Regions from separate parts of the Homo sapiens genome. Here all the other regions are linked to region 1. Evidence: promoter capture Hi-C in 16 types of primary human blood cells and fetal thymus (Javierre and others, 2016). All regions are on one chromosome and are shown on one strand. Each heading gives the region's core, a stretch centred on a gene start or on the middle of the fragment in contact. The rest is flanking DNA. Distances are from core to core; before and after follow the strand shown. Region 1 holds the start of ACSBG2 (acyl-CoA synthetase bubblegum family member 2). Region 2 holds the start of CD70 (CD70 molecule). Region 3 holds the start of KHSRP (KH-type splicing regulatory protein). Region 4 overlaps TUBB4A (tubulin beta 4A class IVa).

Evidence for each region. Contacts are between HindIII fragments. The CHiCAGO score rates a contact against its expected background, and 5 or more counts as called.
Region 2: a contact is called between the fragment with the promoter of CD70 here and the fragment with the promoter of ACSBG2 in region 1, in 5 of 17 cell types (M0 macrophages, M2 macrophages, erythroblasts and 2 more). The highest score is 8.9, in M0 macrophages.
Region 3: a contact is called between the fragment with the promoter of KHSRP here and the fragment with the promoter of ACSBG2 in region 1, in 1 of 17 cell types (erythroblasts). The highest score is 5.3, in erythroblasts.
Region 4: a contact is called between a fragment that was not itself captured here and the fragment with the promoter of ACSBG2 in region 1, in 1 of 17 cell types (M0 macrophages). The highest score is 5.7, in M0 macrophages.

What each region holds. Positions count from the first base shown.
Region 1 is chr19:6,133,907-6,137,087 of GRCh38, reverse strand. ACSBG2 (acyl-CoA synthetase bubblegum family member 2) reads right to left here and starts at 1,421. Exons shown (of 15, transcript NM_030924.5): 1 at 1,179-1,421. The region is part of intron 3 of LOC105372255 (a long non-coding RNA gene); the gene reads left to right. RefSeq lists enhancers at 651-1,553, 1,554-2,457. The HindIII fragment of the contact is 9,635 bases long and covers 917-3,181 here.
Region 2 is chr19:6,589,545-6,592,577 of GRCh38, reverse strand. It overlaps CD70 (CD70 molecule), which reads left to right and starts at 1,428. Exons shown (of 3, transcript NM_001252.5): 1 at 1,428-1,737; 2 at 2,442-2,475. The coding sequence starts at 1,576. RefSeq lists enhancers at 1-188, 1,259-1,658, 2,159-2,528. The HindIII fragment of the contact is 5,862 bases long and covers 1-3,033 here.
Region 3 is chr19:6,423,063-6,426,249 of GRCh38, reverse strand. It overlaps KHSRP (KH-type splicing regulatory protein), which reads left to right and starts at 1,439. Exons shown (of 19, transcript NM_001366299.1): 1 at 1,439-1,797. The coding sequence starts at 1,549. SLC25A41 (solute carrier family 25 member 41) reads left to right here. Exons shown (of 7, transcript NM_173637.4): 7 at 1-213. RefSeq lists an enhancer at 1,012-1,131. The HindIII fragment of the contact is 19,014 bases long and covers 1-3,187 here.
Region 4 is chr19:6,498,211-6,501,185 of GRCh38, reverse strand. All of the region lies in intron 3 of TUBB4A (tubulin beta 4A class IVa), which reads left to right. Among named protein-coding and RNA genes, the nearest start is that of TUBB4A, 2.6 kb to the left of the region's middle. The HindIII fragment of the contact is 223 bases long and covers 1,398-1,620 here.

The DNA.
Region 1 (3,181 bases), core at 172-2,671:
CAAATAAAATTAGTATCCGGAGTATGAAAAGAACTCTGGATTTAAAAGACAAATGTAAACAACCCAGTGTTTTATGATGAAAAATGTAAACAGGCAGTTCACAAAAAAGGAGCCTGGAAAGGGCTACAAATCCTGGACAAGATGCTCAGTAGCTTTGGTCATCAGGGAACTGCACGTTAAAAATCACACGATCGGCCGGGTGCGGAGGCTCACACCTGTGATCCCAGCACTTTGGGAGGCCGTGGCAGGTGGATCACTTGAGCTCAGGAGTTCTCTACAGAGGACTTGTAAGTTACTAGTAATATTCGATTTCACGAAGTGAAAAGGGCACACAGATATTTATCGTTATTCATTAAATCGTACAGATATGCTTTGTGTTATTTTATATGCATTATATGTTTCACAATTTTAAAAGGCCATGTAGGGTTCAGATGTGGTGACTCACACCTGTAATCCCAGCACTTTGGGAGGCTGAGTCGGGTGGATCGCTTGAGGCCAGGAGTTCGAGACCAGCCTGGCTGGCATGGTGAAACCCCATCTCTACTAAAAATACAAAAATTAGCTGGGCATGGTGGCGCGTGCCTATAATCCCAGCACTTTGAGAGGTCGAGGCGGGTGGATCACCTGAGGTCAGAAGTTCAAGACCAGCCTGGCTGGTATGGCGAAACCCCATCTCTACTAAAAATATAAAAATTAGGCCGAGTATGGCGGCTCACGCCTGTAATCCCAGCACTTTGGGAGGCCAAGGCGGGTGGATCACGAGGTCAGGAGATTGAGACTATCCTGGCTAATGTGGTGAAACCCCATCTCTACTAAAAAATACAAAAAATTAGCCGGGCATGGTGGCAGGCACCTGTAGTCCCAGCTACTCAGGAGGCTGAGGCAGGAGAATGGTGTGAACCTGGGAGGCGAAGCTTGCAGTGAGCCGAGATTGCGCCTGGGCAACAGAGCAAGACTCTGTCTCAAAAAAAAAAAAAAAATTAGCTGGACATGGTGGCAGGCGCCTGTAATCTCAGCTACTTGGGAGGTTGAGGTGGGAGTATCACTTGAGCCTGGGAGGCAGAGGTTGCAGTGAGCTGAGATCGTGCCACTGCACTATAGCCTGGGCAAAAGAGTGAGACCCTGTCTCAAAAAAAAAAGAAAAGAAAACGCATGCCCTTCTCCCATACCACTGGCACCTGTCACTCTTCAAGAGGTGTGGTTCTGGCCATCTGGCAAGGCACCTGGAGCTGGGACATCTGGTCACTCAGGTGTTTTCTTCTTCCTGCAAAGACAGTCAACAGGTAGCCCCTCCTGGAAACCTGAACATGAGCTGCCCCTTCCCAGCCCCCGTCACCCTCTCCGTCCAGCCAGGATGATGGTGGTGGTGGGAGGCAGGAGGATGGGTGGTTTCCCTCCACAACAGGCCTTCTACCCCATTCAACCTTCCAGAACGTTCCATCCCAGCCACCTCTTGTGACATCACTGGCTGCCCCTGCCTCCGCACCCCACCCCCACCCCTAGGGGAAGCTGCTTCCAGGACAGGGAGATTGCTCTTTTCATGCATCATTCATTTATTCATGCATGCATGCACTTCTGCGTTGCATTCGTGACGTTTTTATGAAGCCATGACCCTAATGGCAGGGATTGTGCTGGATGCTGGAGACATAAAGATGAACAAAGCCAGATGAGGCCTGTTCAAGAAAATAAGAGGAGGCCTAGAATCACACAAACAAATGCAAACTTACCATTGTGAAGAGAGCCCCAAGGCATGTTGAGGGCTTGATCAAAGGATCCCGCCCAGGCAGGGAGTCTGGGAGTGGTTTCTTTCTTTTCTTTCGTTTTTTGAGACGGGAGTCTTGCTCTGTCACCCAGGCTGGAGTGCAATGGTGCGATCTCAGTTCACTGCAACGTCTGCCTCCCAGGTTCAAGCGATTCTCCTGCCTCAGCCTCCCGAGTAGCTGGGATTACAGGCGCCCGCCACCACGCCCGGCTAATCTTTTGTATTTTTAGTACAGACGGGGTTTCGCCATGTTGGCCAGGCTGGTCTCAAACTCCTGACCTTGTGATCCGCCCGCCTTGGCCTCCCAAAGTGCTGAGATGACAGGCGTGAGCCACCGCGCCTGGCCTGGGAGTGGTTTCTTGAGCTGGGATCTGAAGTATGCCTGGATGTTATTCCTGCCCTCGTGACTTTCTCTTACGCTGCCTGTCTTCATGTGTTTACAGCGGCCTCCCCCTTCTCGTTCTCTGCTTTAGTCACTGCTAACAATGTCCACTACCAGGCACAGTGGCTTGTGCCTGGAATCCCAGCACTTTGGGAGGCCAAGTCCGTAGCATCACTTGAGGCCAGGAGTTCAAAACCAGCCTGGGCAATGTAGTAAGACCCCGTCTCTACAGAAAAATTTAAAAAATTAGCCGGGCGTGGTGGTGCGCAAGTGTAACCACAGCTAGTAGGGAGGCTGAGGTGGGGGGATTGTTTGAGCCCAGGAGTTCCAGGCTGCAGTGAGCTGTGATGGTACCATGGCACTCCAGCCAGGCCTACAGAGCAAGACCTTGTCTCAAAACAAAAAAGACAAAACAGTGCCAGGTGCAGCACATACTAGATGCTCAGTAAATAAAGATGTAGCAACAGAATCTTGTGCTGTGCCAGGAGAAAAGGACAAGGAGTGTTCCTTTGTCTCCAGGGCCTTTTGTGTGTGTGTGTGAGAGAGAGAGAGAGACGGAGTTTGGCTCTTGTTGCCCAGACTGGAGTGCAATAGCGTGATCTTGGCTCACTGCAACCTCTGCCTCCCGGGTTCAAGCGATTCTCCTGCCTCAGCCTCCCAAGTAGCTGAGGTTACAGGCATGCACCACCACTCCCGACTAATTTTCTGTATTTTTAGTAGAGATGGGTTTTCACCATGTTGGCCAGGCTGGTCTCCACCTCGTGGCCTCAGGTGATCCACCCGCCTCAACCTTCCATGGTGCTGGGATTACAGGTGTAGCCACCGCACCTGGCCACCAGGGCCTTCTTAATGTTTCACAAATATCTACTCTGCAGAGCACCTGGGCAGCTGTGCCAGGACAGCCAGTGTCCACCAATGTCCATTCAGCCCTTCTTCCCCAGAGCTCTCACCTAAAGAGAGAGAATGTTTCCCAGGCCCCCTGACTGCATGGCGTGTCCATGTGACTACATCCTGCCCTGTGGGATGTGGGCATAAGT
Region 2 (3,033 bases), core at 179-2,678, 460 kb before region 1:
AGTTCCAGGAGGCCATGAATTCTGGGAGGACACCGTTAACCCACTACAGCCATCGAGAACAGCAGCAGGAGGCTGGATGCGGTGGCTCACACCTGTCATCCCGGCACTTTGGGGGACCTACGCAGCAGGATCGCTTGAGCCCAGATGTTTGAGACCAGCCTGGTAACATAGTAACACCCTATCCTCTACCCCCCCCAAAAAAAAAATTAGCCGGGCATGGTAGCGTGTGCTGGTAGACCCAACTATGCAAAAGGCTGAGATGGGAGGGTCACTGAAGCCCAGGAGTTTGAGGCTGCTGTGAGCTGTGTGGCGCCACTGCATCCAGCCTGGGCAACAGAGCAACACTCTGTCTCTAAAAATATTAATTTAGGCCGGGCGCGGCGGCTCACGCCTGTAATCCCAGCACTTTGGGAGGCCAAGGCGGGCAGATCACGAGGTCAGGAGATGGAGACCATCCTCGCTAACATGGTGAAAACCCATCTCTACTAAAAATACAAAAAGTTAGCCGGGCGTGGTGGCGGGCGCCTGTAGTCCCAGCTACTTGAGAGGCTGAGGCAGGAGAATGGCGTGAACCCGGGAGGCGGAGCTTGCAGTGAGCCGAGATGGCGCCACTGCACTCCAGCCTGGGCGACAGAGCGAGACTCTGTCTCAAAAAAAAAAAAAATAAATAATAAAATAAAATAAAAATAAAAAATAAAAATATTAACTTAATTTAACTTTAAACAAAAAAGCAGGTGGTCTCCAAGAATGCAGGAGATAACTGACCGGGTGCAGTGTCTCATGCCTTTAATCCCAGCACTTTGGAAGGCCAAGGCGGGTGGATCACCCAAGGTCAGGAGTTCAAGTCCAGCCTGGCCAACATGGTGAAACCCCATCTCTACTAAAAATACAAAAAATTAGCCAGGCATGGTGGCGCGCGCATGTTACTCCCAGCTACTCGCGAGGCTCAGACAGGAGAATCGCTTGAACCCAGGAGATCGAGGTTGCGGCGAGCTGAGATGGCGCCACTGCACTCCAGCCTGGGTGACAGAGGGAGACCTCCGTCTCAAAAACAAAACAAATCAAAAAAATGCAGGAGAGGGGTACACGAATATTTGGGGAGCACCCCCAATTCTTGGATGTCTGCTGTATCCCCAGTGCACAGCACAATCTAATCCCTAATAAATGTGCAGTGGAGGTTTGTTGAATAAATGAATGGGCCCCAGAAGAATGAGGTGGAGAGGGGAATAGGAAGATTGAATGTCTCCTGCCTGAAGGTCGGGCGGGGAGGGGTTGGGGGCAGGCAACTCTGAGGCTCACCCGGGGCCACTGCCTGCATCCTGGCAACTGCCTCCACCCACTTTAGGATCTTCAGACTGGCAGCGGTTGGAGGGAATTTCCCCTCGCCAATTGCTCAAGTCCCTCCCCTCGACCGGCCGGACATCCCCAGAGAGGGGCAGGCTGGTCCCCTGACAGGTTGAAGCAAGTAGACGCCCAGGAGCCCCGGGAGGGGGCTGCAGTTTCCTTCCTTCCTTCTCGGCAGCGCTCCGCGCCCCCATCGCCCCTCCTGCGCTAGCGGAGGTGATCGCCGCGGCGATGCCGGAGGAGGGTTCGGGCTGCTCGGTGCGGCGCAGGCCCTATGGGTGCGTCCTGCGGGCTGCTTTGGTCCCATTGGTCGCGGGCTTGGTGATCTGCCTCGTGGTGTGCATCCAGCGCTTCGCACAGGCTCAGCAGCAGCTGCCGCTCGAGTCACTTGGGGTGAGTTGAGATGGAAAAGTTGGGAAGAAAACATAGAGAGGCGCGTGACCGAAAAGACAGAATGAGATGGGTACAAAGAGGCCAGAGAGGAAGATCTGGTAGGGCAGAGACAGAGACCAGAACAGGGAGGCGAGGCGGGGACCAGGCTGCCCGGTGTAGGGGCTACGAGACAGGCAGCCCTGCCAGGAGGTACAGGGAGATCCCGGGATGGGAAAGGTAGGCACACATGGAAATGGAAGATGACTCGGCTCTGGTGTTCCCCCGGCAGGCTGACTCAGAGGCTGCTGGGGGCTTCACAAGGCTGGGCGTGGGGGCTTCCTGGGGCCTCCTAGGACGGGATGGCCCCAGCCACTCGCTCCGGGTGGGGGAGGGGTCCCTTTGGGGACCGCGCCGGGCGCCTTTGCAGCGTAGAGAGTCCGCTGCGCGCGGTGCTCTCGCGCCCAGTGACATCCAGGAAAACGATTCGGGAAACGAAGAAGTTCTTTTGAAGGTCTCGACTTCACGTTCCCCGCTGGTTCAGACCTGCTTCCTCTTTAAGAAGTCTTAAGAGTAAAAAAAAATAAAATGAAATAAAATCACCAGTGCGCGCCGTGGGATGAGAGGTGGAAAGGAGGATGGACAGAGAAAAGAGAGCTCCTGGCACAGGGGACACATAGAACCTCTCTGCTTACGTCCGTGCCCTGTTTTCTGGTCTTTTCTTCCAGTGGGACGTAGCTGAGCTGCAGCTGAATCACACAGGTAACACGGGGGACGTGGAGGGACGGGGAGAAGAAGAGGCACAGAGAGAGAAGGAAGGAGAGGTAGAAAGACAAGTGGGGAGAGACAGAGAGAAAGAGACACAGACAGAGACGGAGGGAGAGAGGGAGGGAGAGATAGGGAGGGAAACGGAGAGGGGGAGACAGAGAGAAGACAGAGAGGGAGGGAGAGGCCCAGAGAAAGGGAGGGAGAGACAGAAAAAAGAACAGAGAGAGGGACAGAGGGGACAGACGGGACAGGAGAAGAAGGGGAAAGAAAGAAACAGGGAGAGACGCAGGGAGAGTGGAAGAGGGAGGGAGGGAGACAGGCGGGGGAGACAGAACGAGAGAGAGGGAGAGAGACGGAGAAAGAGAAAAAAGACAGATAGAGGAAGAGAGAATAAAAACGAGAGAGGCGACCTGGCGTGGTTGCTGGAGCCTGTAATCCCAGCGCTTTCGGAGGGCGCGGCGGGTGGATCACTTGAGCCCAGGAGTTTGAGACCAGCCTGGCCAACATGGTGAAACCCCGTCTCTACTAAAATTACAAAAATTAGCCGGGTGT
Region 3 (3,187 bases), core at 190-2,689, 290 kb before region 1:
GGGGCTCTGGGTCAGAAGATTCCTGAAGCTGGGGTTGGTGGTGGGTGGAGGGGGGCAGTGCTGGGTCAGAAAACTCCTGGGACTCCCTCCCCAGGGTGCAGCCTGAGACAAGAAACGTGGACTCCAGTCTGGCCCCTTGTGGGTCGTCCTGGCTCCAGGGCGAAATGGTGAACATGTCACACAACAAGGAATAAAGAGATGGTTTTTGCTGAACGTGTCTGGATACTTGGGCCTAGGAGTGGAACTGGGTGCATGAGATCCCTGGACCCAGTAGGGGAGCTGGGGACCTTGGGCCTCTGGGTCCTGAATGGGAATTTGTGTCCAGGAGAGGAAGTGAGGACCTAGGATAGGAGCTTGAGGCTTGGATCCCAGGGCCTTAGGCGAAGGGAGTGAGGGGTGTGAAGTGAGGGGTGTGATCGAGGCTGTGATCCCTCGATCCCGGTTGTTGGAACGGTTCTGGACTCGTGAGTGGGGCTGGTTCCTTGAGTCCTGCAAGAGAACTGGACGCTCTAGATGGGGGGTCGAGAGAGAAGAAGGCCCGGGGGATCCCGAGTTTCCTGCTTTCCGGCCTCCCCACCTCCGGAAGCGCTCGATCTCTAAGGCTTCAAGCGGGCCACGTGCCGGGCCTACCCAACCAGGCTGCCGGTGAGCTAACCCAGACATCAGGCCTGAGTTCGGGCAGCCGATTGCCACCGCCCACGTCGGCTGCCATTCACTACAGTTCCCGCTAATCCCCTCGCTGTCTGGTGGCCGACTCCGCCCCAATGCAGCGGCGCTTCCACTGGCTCCCACCAAAAGTGGGCGCTTTGATTTCCTTCATTCCCATTTGTCCAGACCAGTGTCAGTCACCGAACACCCACCCATGTCGCTCAGCCATTGGCTTAGAAGTCAGGGATAGAAAAGGATTCTGGTTAACAAGGGAAGCAATTAAAGTCCAAAGCCAACCTCATCACCCAGAACTCGTCAGGAATTGGATTAATTGGCTGCCCATCTTTACAAGCACCACCTCTCACGTGCATTCATTGGCTTGTGTCCACGACTATCAAACCTAACGCCCACCCAGCCGGTCCATAGGAGTCTTCCACTAGGCCCGGCCTTACAGTCCACGTGACTCTTCAGAACCGTCAATCTAATTCTGAAGCCGCCCCGCGAATCTGGCACTCGCGTTTCATTGGGCCTCCTGCCTTCTCAGATCTCCTTCATTTGCCCGCCCAGCACGGGCAGCTCGCAGCTATTGCCTCTGAGAGCTGTCAGTCACTCTGAGCCTCCCGCCCACTGCCCCTCATTGCACTCCGATTGGCCACCTCCTACAGAGCTCGCGATTGGTGTCCGGGGTGCGGCGGCTGCCTCCCATTGGCCCGCCGGAGTCGTCCGTCACGTCGGCGGCGGGAGGGGCGACTCTCTCCCCCCTCGTCGTCCTCCCAGCGGCTGGGTTCCCAGAGTGCTCCGCGGCCGTGTGGAGCGAGGCCTTGTTCCCGCGTTGAGCCGCCGCCGCCGCCGCCGCCTCCTCAGCTTCAGCCTCCGCGCCAGGCCCGGCCCCGCCGCGCCATGTCGGACTACAGCACGGGAGGACCCCCGCCCGGGCCGCCGCCGCCCGCCGGCGGGGGCGGGGGAGCCGGAGGCGCCGGGGGAGGCCCTCCGCCGGGCCCGCCAGGCGCGGGGGACCGGGGCGGCGGCGGTCCCGGCGGCGGCGGCCCGGGCGGGGGGTCGGCCGGGGGCCCCTCTCAGCCACCCGGCGGAGGCGGCCCGGGAATCCGCAAGGACGCTTTCGCCGACGCCGTGCAGCGGGCCCGCCAGGTGAGGAGGCCGAGGGCCTGAGGGGCGCGCTCGCGCGCGCGCGCAGGCGGGGGAGGGGGCGGGGGTCACGTGCGCGCGCGCGCGCAGGGTCGCGGAGGGGGGCCGGGGCCGTCGCGGGGTCACGTGGGCGGTAGGCGGGGGCCTGGCCCTCCCGCTGCGCCTCGAGTGGGATCCCAACGGGTGACCCCCCTGCAGGGAGTAGGGGCGCACTGGGGGTCACCAGGAGCGGCGCCTGGGTGTGCAGGCGCCCCGGAGCTCGGAGACGCACTTTTGGGACCCCCCCCTTAGCCCCCCGGCCTTAGGACATGCCTGGAGGCAGGGGTCCACCTTCCCGGGCGGAGGGCCTTTACTCTCCCCTCCATATCAGGGCAAAGGGCAGTGTTTGCCCCCAACCCAGTCCCATTTCTGTCCCCTCTCTAGGAGAAAGGGACATTGTGGGGGTGGGAGGGACAGTCCTTCCTCTTCAGTCGGGAAAGTGGATGGGGACCTGTCTAGGGCTGAGCACTTGGGCGAAATGGGGAAGACGAGCATGGGGACTGGCTCTTGGATGCTTTGGTGGCTTGAAAGCGTGGTCTGTCTCTTTGGGGGAAAGAAGGGAGGGTCTCCCACCCCCGTGTATTGAGGCGTAATGACAAGGAAGTGTCACATGCTGCTAGGACTGACCTCTCCAGCTCCATTTGCAGCCTCCCCATGGCCTGGAGGGGTGGGGGTCGGTAGAATGGGAGGACTTTGCCGCCGACCGGCTCCTGGGCTGTCCCAATGCCTCCGGGGCTAGAGACTGGCTCCTCCCAAGGTGGGAGGTCCCGTTAAGTGAACGCCTGTGTTCTGGCCCTCTGTCGTCTCTCTCACCCTTGGAGTTGGGTGGGTTCTAGCGTGCATTTGGTCTTATTGCCCATGGAACCGTCTGATTCTGGGACAGCTTGAAGGGAGGAAGCTGGTGCTGTCAGTTGGTGGGGACAGGCCCCCTGTGGGCATCCCATGAGTTTTGGCTCTAGGGCAGCGTAGAAAAATGGAGACTGGTGGAAAGGGAGATTCTTAACATGGTTTGGGTTTCTAAACCCCAGACTCTGATCCTAAGTTTGCTGGGTTGAGGTTTCTTTAAAGTTGCTCTTCACGTGTCTGAGATGTAACTTGTGTCCCATAGAGTCTTGGTTTTTTGTTTGTTTGTTTGTTTTTTGGAAACAGTCTCAATATCACCCAGGCAGGGGTGCAGTGGCACGATCTCAGCACACCACAGCCTCCACCTCTCCAGTTGAAGTGCTCCTCCTGCCTCAGCCTCCCGAGTAGCTGGGATTATAAGTGTGCACCACCACACCCAGCTAATTTTTGTATTTTTAGTAGAGATGGAGTTTGACCATGTCAGCCAGTCTGTCTCGAACTCCTGAGTTCA
Region 4 (2,975 bases), core at 260-2,759, 360 kb before region 1:
GTGGACAGGGCACCAGGCACCAGCCCTGCATCCAGGGCTGTGATGAGGGGATGCTCAGGCCACTGTGAGAGCCCTGAGGAGGGCGGATACAGAGAAGGATTCAGGGAAGTCTTCCTGGAGGAGGTGGCATTTTAATTCAACGGTCTGAACCGGAACCAGACTGCCTGGGTGCACATCCCAATTCTGCCACTTCATGCATTCAACAAACAGTGAGCACTCACTGCATACCAGGCCCTGTTCTAGAAGCTGGAGATCCAGGTAAGAATCAAACAGCCGGAGCTCCCTCTCTGCCCCAGTGCAGCTCCCATTCTGGTAGAAGGTGATAGGCCACAAAGGAGATAAATAAGTAAAGCTCTGCCAGGGGTTGATTCAGATGGATAACTTAGGATGGGCTCCTCAGCCTTTCTGGGCCTCAAAAATCCTCTTTTTTTTTTTTTTTTCAGACAGGGTCTGTCTGTCCTGCTGTCACCCAGGCTAGAGTGCAGTGGCATGATCACGGCTCACTGTCACCTCCACCTCTGGGCACACGTGATCCTCTTGCCTCAGTCTCCCAAGTAGCTGGACCTACAGGCATGCACCACCACACCCAGCTAATTTTTTAGTTTTCTTTGTAGAGAGGTGGGTCTCTCTATGTTGCCCATGCTGGTCTCAAACTCCGGGACTCAAACGATCCACCCAACTCAGCTCCCAAAGTGCTGGATTACAAGCATGAGCCACCTTGCCCGGCCTCCTCGTCTTTAAAACAGGGATTTCACTGGGCATGGTGGTTCATGCCTATAAACCCAGGACTTTGGGAGGCTGAGTCAGGAAGAGAGCTTGAGGTCAGGAGTTCGAGACCAGCCTGGGCACCATGGTGAGACCCTGTCTCTACAAAAAGAAAAAAATTTTAATTAGCTGAGTGAGGTGGTGTGCACCTGTAGTCACAGCTACTCGTGAGGCTAAGGTAGGAGAATCACTTGAGCCTGGGAGGTTGAGGCTGCCATGAGCTATGATGGTGCCACTGCACTCCAGCCTGAGCGATGGTGTGAGACCCCATCTCTAAAAAAGATCAAATAAAACAGGGATTCTAAAATGCTATTAGAATTGTGAGGCTCAGGGTGGGCACGGTGGCTCACACCTGTAATCCCAGCACTTTGGGAGGCCGAGGCGGGTGGATCACCTGAGGTCGGGAGTTTGAGACCAGCCTGACTAACATGGAGAAACCCCATCTCTACTAAAAATAAAAAATTAGCCAGGCATGGTGGCACATGCCTGTAATCCCAGCTACTCGGGAGGCTGAGGCAAGAGAATTGCTTGAACGGCAGAGGTTGTGGTGAGCCAAGATCATGACACTGCACCCCAGCGTGGGCAACAAGAGTGAAACTTCGTCTCCAAAAAAAAAAAAAAATTGTGAAGCTTAAAGTCATGAATATGTGTAGAGTTTAGAACAATGCCTGACACAGAGAAAGAGGTAAATAAGCATTTGTCGTTGTTTTCATTACTATCTGCAGTCTAGAATGTGAGTAGGATTTGGACTGGCCAAAGGGCATGGAAGGGAGGAAAGATGTTTAAGACGGAGGCAACAGCATATGTGAAGATAGTGGGGTGTCCACACCCTGGGACAATCCTTCCGGGAAAGCTTTCCTGGCTCCAGCTGGCTGCATGTCCCCACCCTGGCTCCACCCGCCTCCAATACTCCCAGCATGTAAGACGTGCTAAATGCAGGACCTGTCCTGCCTCTCTGAATCTTTTCCGCAACTCGCCTCTTACTTCCATTTTACAGGTGAGAAAACAGAGGCACAGAGACGTTAGGTCACTTGCAGAAAGTCACACTGCAAGCCACTGGGGCTGTCAGGAGCCAGAGGAGAGGGTCTGACTACTAGGTCCACGCTTTTTTTTTTTTTTGAGACGGAGTCTCCGTTGCCCAGGCTGGAGTGCAGTGACGCAACCTCCACCTCCCAGATTCAAGCGATTCTCCTGCCTCACGAGTAGCTGGGACTACAGGCATGCATCACCACACCTAGCTAATTTTTTGTATTTTTAATAGTGACGGGGTTTCGCCATGTTGGCCAGGCTGGTCTCCTATTCCTGACCTCTCAGGTGATCTGCCTGCCTCTGCTTCCCAAAGTGCTGGGATTACAGGCATGAGCAACCGCGCCTGGTCTGAGCCCACACTTTTAATGCTCCTCCCACCCCCTGGCCACCCAGAGGCCATAGAATCTCTTGGCCCAACTGTAAGCCCTCTGGTCCTCCTGAAATCACTCACACCATTTGGCCAATCTCATTTCATCTTGATTTCACCCAGCCATTTCCCAAGGACCTATGATGGGCCACGGCCACAAAACTGCATCATTATGTTTTGAAATCTTCCAACAGATCAGAAAGGGGAAGTCACTTGTCCAAGGTCACACAGTTTGTCTTGTCAGTCCCGAGAATCTGCAGTCTAAACCACCAGGCTCGGGAGGAGGAGGGAGGGGGTGACCAGAGGTGGCTTCTCTGAGGATGTGGCATTGAGCTGAGACCTGAAGGAAGTGAGGAAAAAGTCAGGTGAATACCTGGGGGGAAAGCATTCTAAGCAGCCAAGCCACTAGTGCAAAGGCCCCAGGGCAGGACCACACCTGGAAAGCTGGAGTAACAGCTGCGGCTGAAGCAGAGTGAGGGAGGGGATGGGGCAGGTCCGGCAGGGCCTTGTGGCCTGCAGGGAGGATTTGGGCTTTGACCCCAAGGTAGGTGGGAGCCATGGAGGGCTGTAGGCAGAGGAGGGACGGGACCTGACTTACTTGCTCTCAGGTGTCCTCTCGTGGGTACTGTGGAGAGGACAGACTGGGTGATAAGGGTAGGAGCCAGGGGACCAGGACAGAGGGAATTGAACTTATCCAGGAGGGTGATGCTGGAGCTGAACTAAGGTGGAGACAGATGAGGGGTGAAAGAAAACGTTAGCTGTTCACAGTAATACCGGCCAATATTCTTTTTTTTATTCCATTTTTTTTTTTTTT